Linked DNA regions of Homo sapiens: region 1 is linked to region 2. Evidence: promoter capture Hi-C in human tissues and cell types (Jung and others, 2019). All regions are on one chromosome and are shown on one strand. Each heading gives the region's core, a stretch centred on a gene start or on the middle of the fragment in contact. The rest is flanking DNA. Distances are from core to core; before and after follow the strand shown. Region 1 overlaps ITFG1 (integrin alpha FG-GAP repeat containing 1). Region 2 holds the start of LONP2 (lon peptidase 2, peroxisomal).

Region 1 (5,360 bases), core at 1,055-3,554, 790 kb after region 2:
GCTGCCAGAATGATGCTGTGCCTGCAGTGATTCTCACTAGCAAAATGAATGCTGCACCTGGTCTCTTGATACTCCCAAATTCAGTGAGCAGACACAGATAGAAATAGCAGAGAAACAGCCTTTACCTCATTCATGCCTTTAAGACTCACAGTGTATCTGATTGGCAAGGCTTAACTTTTATTCAGCATCTCAGATGCCACAATATCTGGAAAATGCTATTTTTGGTTTCTAGTCTCCTTAGCACAGGAAAGCACAAAAAAGTTGAAGTATGGTTCGAGAGTCAGTCTACCATACCTAGTCACAAATCATCAAGCCTTATCTGAAAAGCCAATTAGTTATACCTAAATAGGCAACTTTGTTCATGGAGCCAAATTTCAGTCATGTTTTCTGCACCATTTGGGAATGTAAACAGTAATCGCGATACATTATATTCATTAAGTCAATAAATATTTACAGAGGGAGTACCATGCACAAAGCTTGTATATAAGCATGTACATTTTAGAACCAGGAAGTTTTGCATATGTGGCCTTCTTTACACCAAAACCTTGTTAATTGTCAACCTCTCTAGCACTAAATTGTGTAAAGACAAAGACTCAGCTAGCAAATATTTAGATGCATACCTCAAAAGGAGGTTATTGTAATGCTAGTCTTCACTGTAGAATGTATTCTCCCAATATTTTGTCTTTGCAAGCTTGATGTTCATTTGAACTAGATTTATAGTATCTCATTAATGATAATAGTTGGAATAAATCAGAGATAAATCTAGAAAAGAGTAGAAGAATATTTTTTCCTAAGCATAGATATCAAAAGTAATATAAAATGCCTGCTAATTCATATATATATATATCTTTTTTGCAGATCCTAACAATATGACCATACTCAATAGGACTTTTCAAGATGAGCCACTAATTATGGAGTAAGTATGGGCTTGCTTCCTTTGAAACGATTTTAAACTTAAACATAAAATAAAATCTTCACATAGGAAACTACTTTGCTTAGTAATAAAAATACTAAATTCACTCAGAGGCCTGTACCTTTGATTATATTGTATTTATTTGCCATCAGATAGGACAAAGAAAAATGAAATTTATTATTTTGGAAAGTAGAAGAGATTTGTGTTTTTATTTCAGTCGCTTCAAATGTGTCCATTATGGATCTATGCTGTCATTACTGAAAGAATTAAGATACCTGTTTTTGAGTAAAACTGTTATATTTGATATTTAGGATACAGTTTCCTCTAGAAATTTAGAAAGATTCCTATATTAAGGAGAAATTTTTGTTCTTTTTATAATATAACTCCTGCTTTGTGTTATCATTTATATTCTCACTGTAGACTCATGTACCAGCATAATTGATTTAAATAATTGATGTAAATTTGGATTTGCAAATTTCTGACAGCGTATTTTGGTAGAGGTCGAGATCATTCCCGGGACTAGAGCAAAGTTTGGCCACATTCTTGTTTCCAGTACTGTCTTTCTTACAGTTATTAAAATCATACCCATACAGCAGTGTGTCAGTGGCCATTAGAAGTCTGAACTGTAAATCCATGGATTAATCTTCTTAACGGTGCCCCGCTAGATTTCTTTCATAGTTGTGTATTTTTTCATTGTTGTTAAAATATTCAATGGCCAGTATGAAGTTTTATACCAACTAGGATTATTTTTCTAGGTTATTTCTCCTAAGCCCATCTAAGTAAACAAGTTGGCTTAGGATTCTGAAGTAAGTTTCTAGGAATTAGTGCTGTATCCTTATCATTCAAGGGTAGTCTAGATAATGCAAAGATTACAGAGATACCCAAAATCTCACAAAACGAATTTATTTCTTGCTCTTACTATATGTCCAGTGTGGGTCAACAACAGGCTCTGCTCTGTGCTGTTGCTTAGAGTCAGGCCATCAGAGAGCCCACTGTCTTTGTAGCTAGTCCATCTGAATCACAATGCCTTCTCATTGCCATGGCAAGCCTGGAGAGGGCTGGAGGGGCTGGTAACAGAAATTATACACTTTGGCCTAAAAGTGACACATGTCACTTGTGCTGACATTTGACTTAATACTTATCACTAGATACTGGCGAGCATTGTAATGTCTACCACACTTCCCAAAAGTTACTGCTTCTTTTAAAGCTAAATTAGAAGTAAGAATTTAAAGAAATAGCTGCTTATTGTTTTAATTTTTTTTCAGTTTCAATGGTGATCTAATTCCTGATATTTTTGGTATCACAAATGAATCCAACCAGCCACAGATACTATTAGGAGGGTGAGTAAATATGGTTATAACTATGTAATTAATCGTATATATTGCTTCTACTTTAACCATTGGAGAAAAAATAGCTCATTGGAATCCTTGTTTTTAAAGATTTTTAAGTGGGCATTTGGTTAATATATATAAGCTTTCTCAAATAGTTTGGATTTGGCCTGCACCTGCTTTCCAAGGGCCAGCTTACTCCTTTTATCTCTTTGAAAAATTAGAGATTGAAACTTTACGGGTCCCCATTTAAATATTGGTTCATTAAATGTTTTTGAAATGGATAGATTTCACGTAAATAGGGAGGATACCTGCAGTCTTGAGTGGATCCTCCCTATCTTAGTACCTTAGTCATGTTAGCTGCTAGACTTTAATTGATAAGATTTGTTTCTTTCTGTCATTTGTTCAGTGAGCAGTCAATAACGGTCTAGTAATATAAGCACTCCTCTAAGCTCTGGAAACTTGTCAGTGAATACATTGTCCTTCACCAGTATGTGTGCTAGGCCTCTCTTACTATCTAAGTATGCAATTCTTAGGGAAAAGTGCCTGGAATCTTGCAATTCCAAGATATCCATTGTAATTACTCTGGATTTAAATAGAACTGGTCTCGTAGCACAAGAATTCCTGATAGCAAGATACTTTTCATAAGATACCTTCAACCCGGTTAATTTTTTTTCTGTATCTGATAAGGTAAAGTTTAGTTCAAGAGTACAGAACACATTTATTTACTTTTTTGTCTTTCTGAAAGTACAAAGGACCACCCTTATCAATCTGTCTTTCCCAGCTACTTGGAACTCTAGTGACTTTTCTCTTTGTGTTTTATAGAAATAGTTTGTTTTTATGATTCATTTTTGAAATGTGATTTGTAGGTATGCAGAGGAGTAAATTGTGAAAATTTTTAAGGTATTCTGAAGAGACACTTTAACATTTCCTATTACTTTTTCTGGTTTACAGCCATACCACCCTGAACGCGCCCCATCTCTTCTGATCTCGGAAGCTAACCAAGGTCAGACCTGGTTAGTGCTTGGATGGGAGATCACCTATTACTTTTTCTGTAGGTTTTTAATAAAGAATATGGGTGCTTTGATGCTAGTAATAGTGAACTTTGAAATAATTATTGTGAATCCTGAATGAGAAACCTGTTTTTTTCTCCAAAATTTGAAAAATATCTTGAAGAGAGTCTTGCTTTAGAGACAAATTGGAAGGAGATCCTGATTTGCTTTTGTGGCCGTATCCAAGAGGAATTGAGTGCAGGTGGGGTGCAGGGAAAACACAGTCCACTCCCCACCACCACTCCGCTCCTTCCACAGCAAATGGGGACTGCTCAGAAAACCCTGTCCTTTCTTTTCCTCTCTTCAAAGGCAGGCATGTGATTGAGGATGTGATGGTGACTTCTGGCCTGTTTTATTTTGTGGTAACTTCACTTTAGTCAGGGAAATAATTGGAATATCTTTAATCTGATGTAGTTTGACCTTTAGAAATTGAAAGTGAAACAGCTATTGTTGATAATTCACAAAGTATTAATAAAACTTCTATTACCTGTACAGATTTTTTACTTAATCTGCGAGAAAACTATTTAGAATATTATGGAATTGTGCCATAGCTTCTTTATTTGTTCTTAATTCTATATTAGATTTTTTTTTCTCTGCTTCATGAACAAGTTCAGATTTTAAAACATCATGCCTGAAGACATGTCCAACTTTATTTTTTATATGTTATATTCTGGTCCAATATACTAGAGTAATAATACTCTGGTATTTTAGGATATCTGTCATTTGAACCTCAGTTACAAATTAAACAATAGTAGCTAACCATATCTAAGTGATAAGTTTGCATCTAAGATTTGTCCTGATGCCAGTTTGAAGATATATAAGCTGACAGAAATTTGCATTGTTTAGAATGACTGTAGTCTAACAATATCATGGTTCAGACAACAGAAAGCTGAATATGCCCCTGTGGCAGCAAATATTAATATGTTACTAAAATATGAAAACTACGTTTAAGCAATGTCAGTTTTATAAACAACAGATAAGATATGTACATAGGTGAGTAAGTGAAAAAGTCATCAGCATTGACATTTTGGGTTATTCACGTGACCTTGATTGGCAGCCTAATCTTTTATTTATCAAGAAATCTACCTTTTACAACTTAAATATTATGCTTTATGGATATGCCAAACCCAAGATTATCTTTAATTGAATTTGACCAGCGCTTTGGTTTGGGAAGCATGCAATGATCTTTAAATTCAGTGTGAAATGCTTCTGTAGAATTATAGCAGAAAGCCCTTGCTATAACCTGGCTTAGTGCAGACATGCAAATCTGAGATAGCACAACCAGTTTGGCTGGACTAAAGGTGCAGATGATCAGTCTAAACAGCAGTGGTGATAAGCAGAAGAATTCCTTATAATTGGTACAGTGGGGTTATCTAACAGGGACAGGAAGGGCACTCACTGCATCTAATGAGGTTCAGGAGGTAATTGAAGTGTGTTAAATGGTCAAAGGTGAGACTTCAGTTTGAGCTTCAACTTCACTTATAATGACTTGAAATAATGTAATAATGTGCCATATTACTTAGAAATAACACCTAGCTGTTAAGTGTCACAGCAGCTTCTGCAGTGATGTGACGTTATTGATAATGAGCATTTTCTATAAGAGGACATTGGAAACTGATGTTGCATACTCATTCAGAATATTGTTTTTAATGTTGAAGTGAAAACACTTGTACCTGTAATTTTAGTCAAAACCAAATATAATGTTGGTCTGTTAAAATTTTCTGACTCAAAAAAAAAAAAAAAAAAAAAAATTTTCTGACTCACGTACTGAGTTCAAATACGTTCTGGGTCAGGCCCAAGTTGTATACTTGGAGATATTAATGTAGGTATGTGACAGATATATACTTTGCCGTACACTGTTTACATCACAAGTGATCGCATGAAAATATTGAATGTGGTATAAGTAGCACTGAAAGCAATCATTTTTAACTGTTGTGTGGGTAGATTTTGCCCCTCCATTATCAAAAAAACTGTATTCTCTATTTAAATGTAGTCAGCTACTATCAATCCAGAAGAAATAAATCTGCATTTTTCCATTTAGCCTTTCATATTTTCTCACATTATAAC
Region 2 (5,540 bases), core at 1,414-3,913:
CACAGTACCTGATTATTAGTGATTACTTTCAAGCAGGAGAATTGAGGATTGTTGCTTTGGAGGGATTTTCATAAAATAAATTAAAAACCTGAAGGGTATGGTGGCGCTTGCCTATAGTCCCAGCTACTCCAGAGGCCAAAGCAGGGGATAGCTTGAGTCCAGGAGTTTGAGACCAGCCTAAGCAACATAGTGAGACCCCATTTCTACAAAAAATTTAAAAATTAGCTGGGTGTAGTGGTGCACGCCTATAGTCCCAGCCACTCCAGAAGCTGAGGCAGGACGATCACTTGAGCCCAGGAGTTCAATCAAGGTTGCGGTGGGCTACGATCACGCCACTGCACTTCAGCGGAGGAGACAGAATGAGACTCTGTCTCAAAAAATACACAAATGAATAAATAATAAAAACCTTCCAAAATCTTGCCAGAATAATACCAACAAATAGTGAAACTTAAAATGTGACTAAATCGACTTTTCAAGTTCACAATGTGCCCATGGCTAATCAATACATATGCACAGTAGAAAGAAAATGAAGTCTAATAATGACCACTCTTGCCTAGACAGGGAACTAAGTGTGCCTGGGCACAGAAGGCAAAATAATTTGGGAAAAGTAAGCAGAAGGAGCAGAGTCGTATGTTGGGAAACTAGAATCCAATACAATTTATCAAAGAGTACTGAAACTTGGAATGTGACCAATTCCACTCAGGCAATAACCAAAGCAGGTCAGATGGGAGCCAAAATATTTTCCATGCTTGAGAAAATCAAGGCTTTTACAATATAAATGAATACTGGGCTGCTGTGGAAGGTTTGTTGGTCTTTGTTGCTTTGTTTTGCTTTCTTTTAACGGGGGTGGGGGGAGGTACCAGTCTCCTTTGAGAATCTGAAGAAAGCAAAGGATTCTCCTAAAAAAATGTACATAGTCACAAGATTTTGAGGAAAAATAAGACATGTCCAACCCTCCGGAAATCCATTCAGAGTCAGGAACCCCTAATTTAAAAATAAGGGATAACTGCCAGGAAAGGAGAAGCTCTAAACTGAAAACACAACACCTCCAGTAGAGTTAGGAATAGGAGGCGGGTGCTTGGCAGGTGAGTTTGAAGATACTTGTTGAGAGCATACGATATACCAGCATTGTCCAATAAAAATATAATGTGGACCACATATAAAATTTTAGTGGCCACATTATAAAGTAAAAACAGCAGAAATCTTAACATTTTATTAACCCCAAGTACTCAAAATATTACCTTTCCAACATTTAATCCATATAAAATGTATTAATCAAAAAGTTTTTTCAAAATCTGGCGTGTATTGTACACTTACAGCACATTTAGGGTGACCAACCTCCTGGTTTCCCTGGGACGGAGGGGCTAAAACATAGGACTTTCAATGCTAAAACAGACAATCGCAGCAAACCAGGACAACTGGCAATTCTATCATCTCAATTTGACGAGCCACATGCACTACACAGTACTGGACAGCAAAGTCATCCATCATGCATGGTGCAAAGTGGAATATACACATTATTCAATTTATTCTTCATAACTTGCCTAAGAGATGGATGCTGTCAGTTTCCAAATTGCAGAATAAAAGAAATAGAGGTTAAAGCTCTCACCCAAAGTCACACCAATAGGGCGAGGGTACTGGGCAATATAGTAGTAAGCCTGGGGCCTAAGAAATGTTATGAGTGAAGGAGCAGAGGTGAGAAGCTAGGAAAGTTCCAGAAAGGGGGACCAGCGAAAATGTGAGCAGTAAAGGCCCTTTACAAAGGGAAACAGAAGGATTAGGGGGAGAAGGAGAAGGGTGGCAGGGAGTATAGAAGAAAGGCACCCACAAATAGTGCAGTTTAGGAATGAAACAGGAAAAGTTAAAACTCACGGAGCAGAGAATGCCTCAGCGGACAAAAATGATGGGTGACAGAAAAGGGGAGGCGGATAGGAGTAAAGGGCAGTGGGGAGAAAGGTGAAAAGCGAAGGCAAGTGAAGGCAGAGATCACCGGGGAGAAAGAAAGGGCCTGGAAAGTTAAAAGCACTGGCCTAGGAGGCTGAAGACCGAGGGCGAGGAATTGCGGAGAGGGGGAAGAGGATTCAAATTAAATTATCCAGAACGGTAGGGAACTGCGTAGTTTCACCAGGTGTCAGGCACTACTTCATGAACGATCTCATTCATGGTCATGGGGCAGGTATCTGACATCCCCATTTTGCAAGTGATAGCACCAGAGAGGCGGAACCGAGCCGCGAAGGCCGCCCCGAACTGAGCCTCGCGCTCAAGGCAGGCCGTGGCCTGGGCCCAGGTCCCCGGAGGAGGCCGCGCCGCCCGCCGCCGCCGCGGGGGCAGCCAGGCCTACCTGTGCAGCGGCGGCAGGTCCTGCGCGTCGCTGGCGGGGTCAGGCGTGTTGGGGATGACGCCCAGGATGGTGCTTTGCAGCGACGTGCCCTTCAGAAGGCGGCTCCGCACCAGCTGCAGGTTGCGGGCCGAGTCCACGCTGGTGCGCATGGTGGAGCCGGGCAGCAGGACGCCCTCGTGGGTGAGCAGCAGCGGGAGGCGACTGGGGATCTGGATGGGGCTCACTGATGACATGCTGGCAGCCTTTCGCACTGGGGGCTGTCAAAAAGAGCCAGACAGACAGCTGCCCCCGGCCTGCCCCGCAGTCACCAAACCTCAGACCCGCCTCCACGCCTCCGCTTCCGGCTACGCGCTACGGTCCGTCCCCGGGCCCAAAAGCCATGGCTTCGCGCTGCTCTCTAGGAGAGCCTCCCGGTAAGACTTGAGCGTCCTACCTATGCGGAAAGACGTGCACTCAAGCGTGCAGCGACCTTCGCCTCACTTACAGAGTATATTTGGAAGGATGATCTTATTTGAATTGTATATACTTGAAGTGTTTTTAACGTTTTCTTCGATTTTTTACATATACTTGAAGTGTTTTTAACTTTTGATTCGAACTAATTATTTATTTATTTATTTATTTATTTATTCTGAGACAGATTCTCGCTCTGTCGCGGAGGCTGGAGTGCAATGGCGCGATACCCACGGCTTGCAGCCTCTGCCTCCCGGGTTCAAGCGATTCTCCTGCCTCAGCCTCCCGAGTAGCTGGGATTACAGATGCCCGCCACCACACCCAGCTAATTGTTGTATTTTTAGTAGGGAGGGGATTTCACCATGTTGGCCAGGCTGGTCTTTAACTCCTGACCTCAAGCGATCCGTCCACCTCGGCCTCCCAAAGTGCTGGGATTACAGGCGTGAGCCAACGTGCCCGGCCCGAATTGATTTTAGATGTACAAAACTACAGCAGAGTTCCTATATACCTTTCACCCAGTTTCGTCTGTTATCATCTTACATAATCATAGTTCAATGATCAAAACCAGGAAATTAACATTATTATCGTTTAACCTATAGGCCTTACCCAAATTTTGCCAGTTTTCCCACTAATGTCCTTCATTGGATCTGGTCCAGGATCCAATATCCAGGATCCTGTTGTGAAATCTCCTAGGTGTTTTGTTATGAAATCTCCTAGGTGTTCTCTAATCTGTGGCAAGTCCTCAATTTTTTTTTTTTTTTTTTTTTTTTGAGACGGAGTCTCGCTCTGTCACCCAGGCTGGAGTGTAGTGGCGAGATCTCGGCTCACTGCAAGCTCCGCCTCCCGGGTTCATGCCATTCTCCTGCTTCAGCCTCCCGAGTAGCTGGGGACTACAGGCACCCGCAACCACGCCCGGCTAATTTTTTGTATTTTTAGTAGAGACGGGGTTTCGCCATGTTAGCCAGGATGGTCTCAATCTCCTGACCTCGTGATCTGCCCGCCTTGGCCTCCCAAAAGTGCTGGGATTACAGGCCTGAGCCACTGCGCCCGTCCAATTTTTTTTTTTTTTACAACCTTGATACTTTTATTTTTTTTCTGTTTTTAATTTAATTTTATTTTTTATTATAGTTTAAGTTCTAGGGTACATGTGCACAACGTACAGGTTTGTTACATATGTATACATGTGCCATGTTGGTTTGCTGCACTCACTAACTCGTCATTTACATTAGGTATATCTCCTAATGGTATCCCTTCCCCCCCACTCCCCACCACCCAACGACAGGCCCCTGAGTGTGATGTTCCCCACCCTGTGTCCAAGTGTTCTCATTGTTCAGTTGCCACCTATGAGTGAGAACTTGCAGTGTTTTGTTTTCGGTCTTTGCGATAGTTTGCTCAGAATGATGGTTTCCAGCATCATCCATGTCCCTACAAAGGACATGAACTCATCCTTTTTTATGGCTGCATAGTATTCCATGGTGTATATGTGCCACATTTTCTTAATCCAGTCTATCATTGATGGACATTTGGGTTGGTTCCAAGTCTTTGCTATTGCGAATAGTGCCGCAGTAAGCATACGTGTGTGTGTGTCTTTATAGCAGCATGATTTATAATCCTTTGGGTATATACCCAGCAATGGGATGGCTGGGTCAAATGGTATTTCTAGTTCCAGATCCTTGAGGAATTGCCACACTGTCTTCCACAATGGTTGAACTAGTTTACAGTCCCACCAACAGTGTAAAAGTGTTCCTATTTCTCCACATCCTCTCCAGCACCTGTTGTTTCCTGACTTTTTAATGATTGCCATTCTAACTGGTGTGAGATGGTATCTCATTGTGGTTTTGATTTGCATTTCTCTGATGGCCACTGATGATGAGCATTTTTTCATGTGTCTGTTGGCTGCATAAATGTCTTCTTTTGAGAAGTGTCTGTTCATATCCTTTGCCCACTTTTAGATGGGGTTGTTTGATTTTTTCTTGTAAACTTGTTTAAGTTCTTTGTAGATTCTGGATATTAGCCCTTTGTCAGATGGGTAGATTGTAAAAATTTTCTTCCATTCTGTAGGTTGCCTGTTCACTCTGATGGTGGTTTATTTTGCTGTGCAGAAGCTCTTTAGTTTAATTAGATCCCATTTGTCAATTTTGGCTTTTGTTGCCATTGCTTTTGGTGTTTTAGTCATGAAGTCCTTGCCCATGCTTATGTCCTGAATGATATTGCCTAGGTTTTCTTCTAGGAATTTTATGGTTTTAGGTCTAACATTTAAGTCTTTAATCCATCTTGAATTAATTTTTGTATAAGGTATAAGGAAGGGATCCAGTTTCAGCTTTCTACATATGGCTAGCCAGTTTTCCCAGCACCATTTATTAAATAGGGAATCCTTTCCCCATTTCTTGTTTTTGTCAGGTTTGTCAGAGATCAGATGGTTGTAGATGTGTGGTATTATTTCTGAGGGCTCTGTTCTGTTCCATTGGTCTATATCTCTGTTTTGGTACCAGTACCATGCTGTTTTGGTTACCATAGCCTTGTAGTATAGTTTGAAGTCAGGTAGCATGTTGCCTCCAGCTTTGTTCTTTTGGCTTACGATTGTCTTGGCAATGCCGGCTCTTTTTTGGTTCTATATGAGCTTTAAAGTAGTTTTTTCCAATTCTGTGAAGAAAGTCATTGGTAGCTTGATGGGGATGGCATTGAATCTATAAATTACCTTGGGCAGTACAGCCATTTTCACGATATTGATTCTTCCTATCCATGAGCA

The links. Contacts are between HindIII fragments. The study calls those that stand out against the background at their distance.
Region 1: a fragment that was not itself captured here is called in contact with the fragment with the promoter of LONP2 in region 2 in 3 of the 25 tissues and cell types used here (dorsolateral prefrontal cortex, heart left ventricle and spleen).

The regions. Positions count from the first base shown.
Region 1 is chr16:47,448,289-47,453,648 of GRCh38, reverse strand. ITFG1 (integrin alpha FG-GAP repeat containing 1) reads left to right here. Exons shown (of 18, transcript NM_030790.5): 4 at 859-916; 5 at 2,179-2,253. It also overlaps the pseudogene RNA5SP424. Among named protein-coding and RNA genes, the nearest start is that of ITFG1, 10 kb to the left of the region's middle. The HindIII fragment of the contact is 5,293 bases long and covers 1-4,950 here.
Region 2 is chr16:48,241,423-48,246,962 of GRCh38, reverse strand. It overlaps LONP2 (lon peptidase 2, peroxisomal), which reads right to left and starts at 2,663. Exons shown (of 15, transcript NM_031490.5): 1 at 2,342-2,663. The coding sequence starts at 2,574. The region is part of intron 1 of ABCC11 (ATP binding cassette subfamily C member 11); the gene reads left to right. RefSeq lists an enhancer at 2,638-2,727. The HindIII fragment of the contact is 28,002 bases long and covers 1-5,540 here.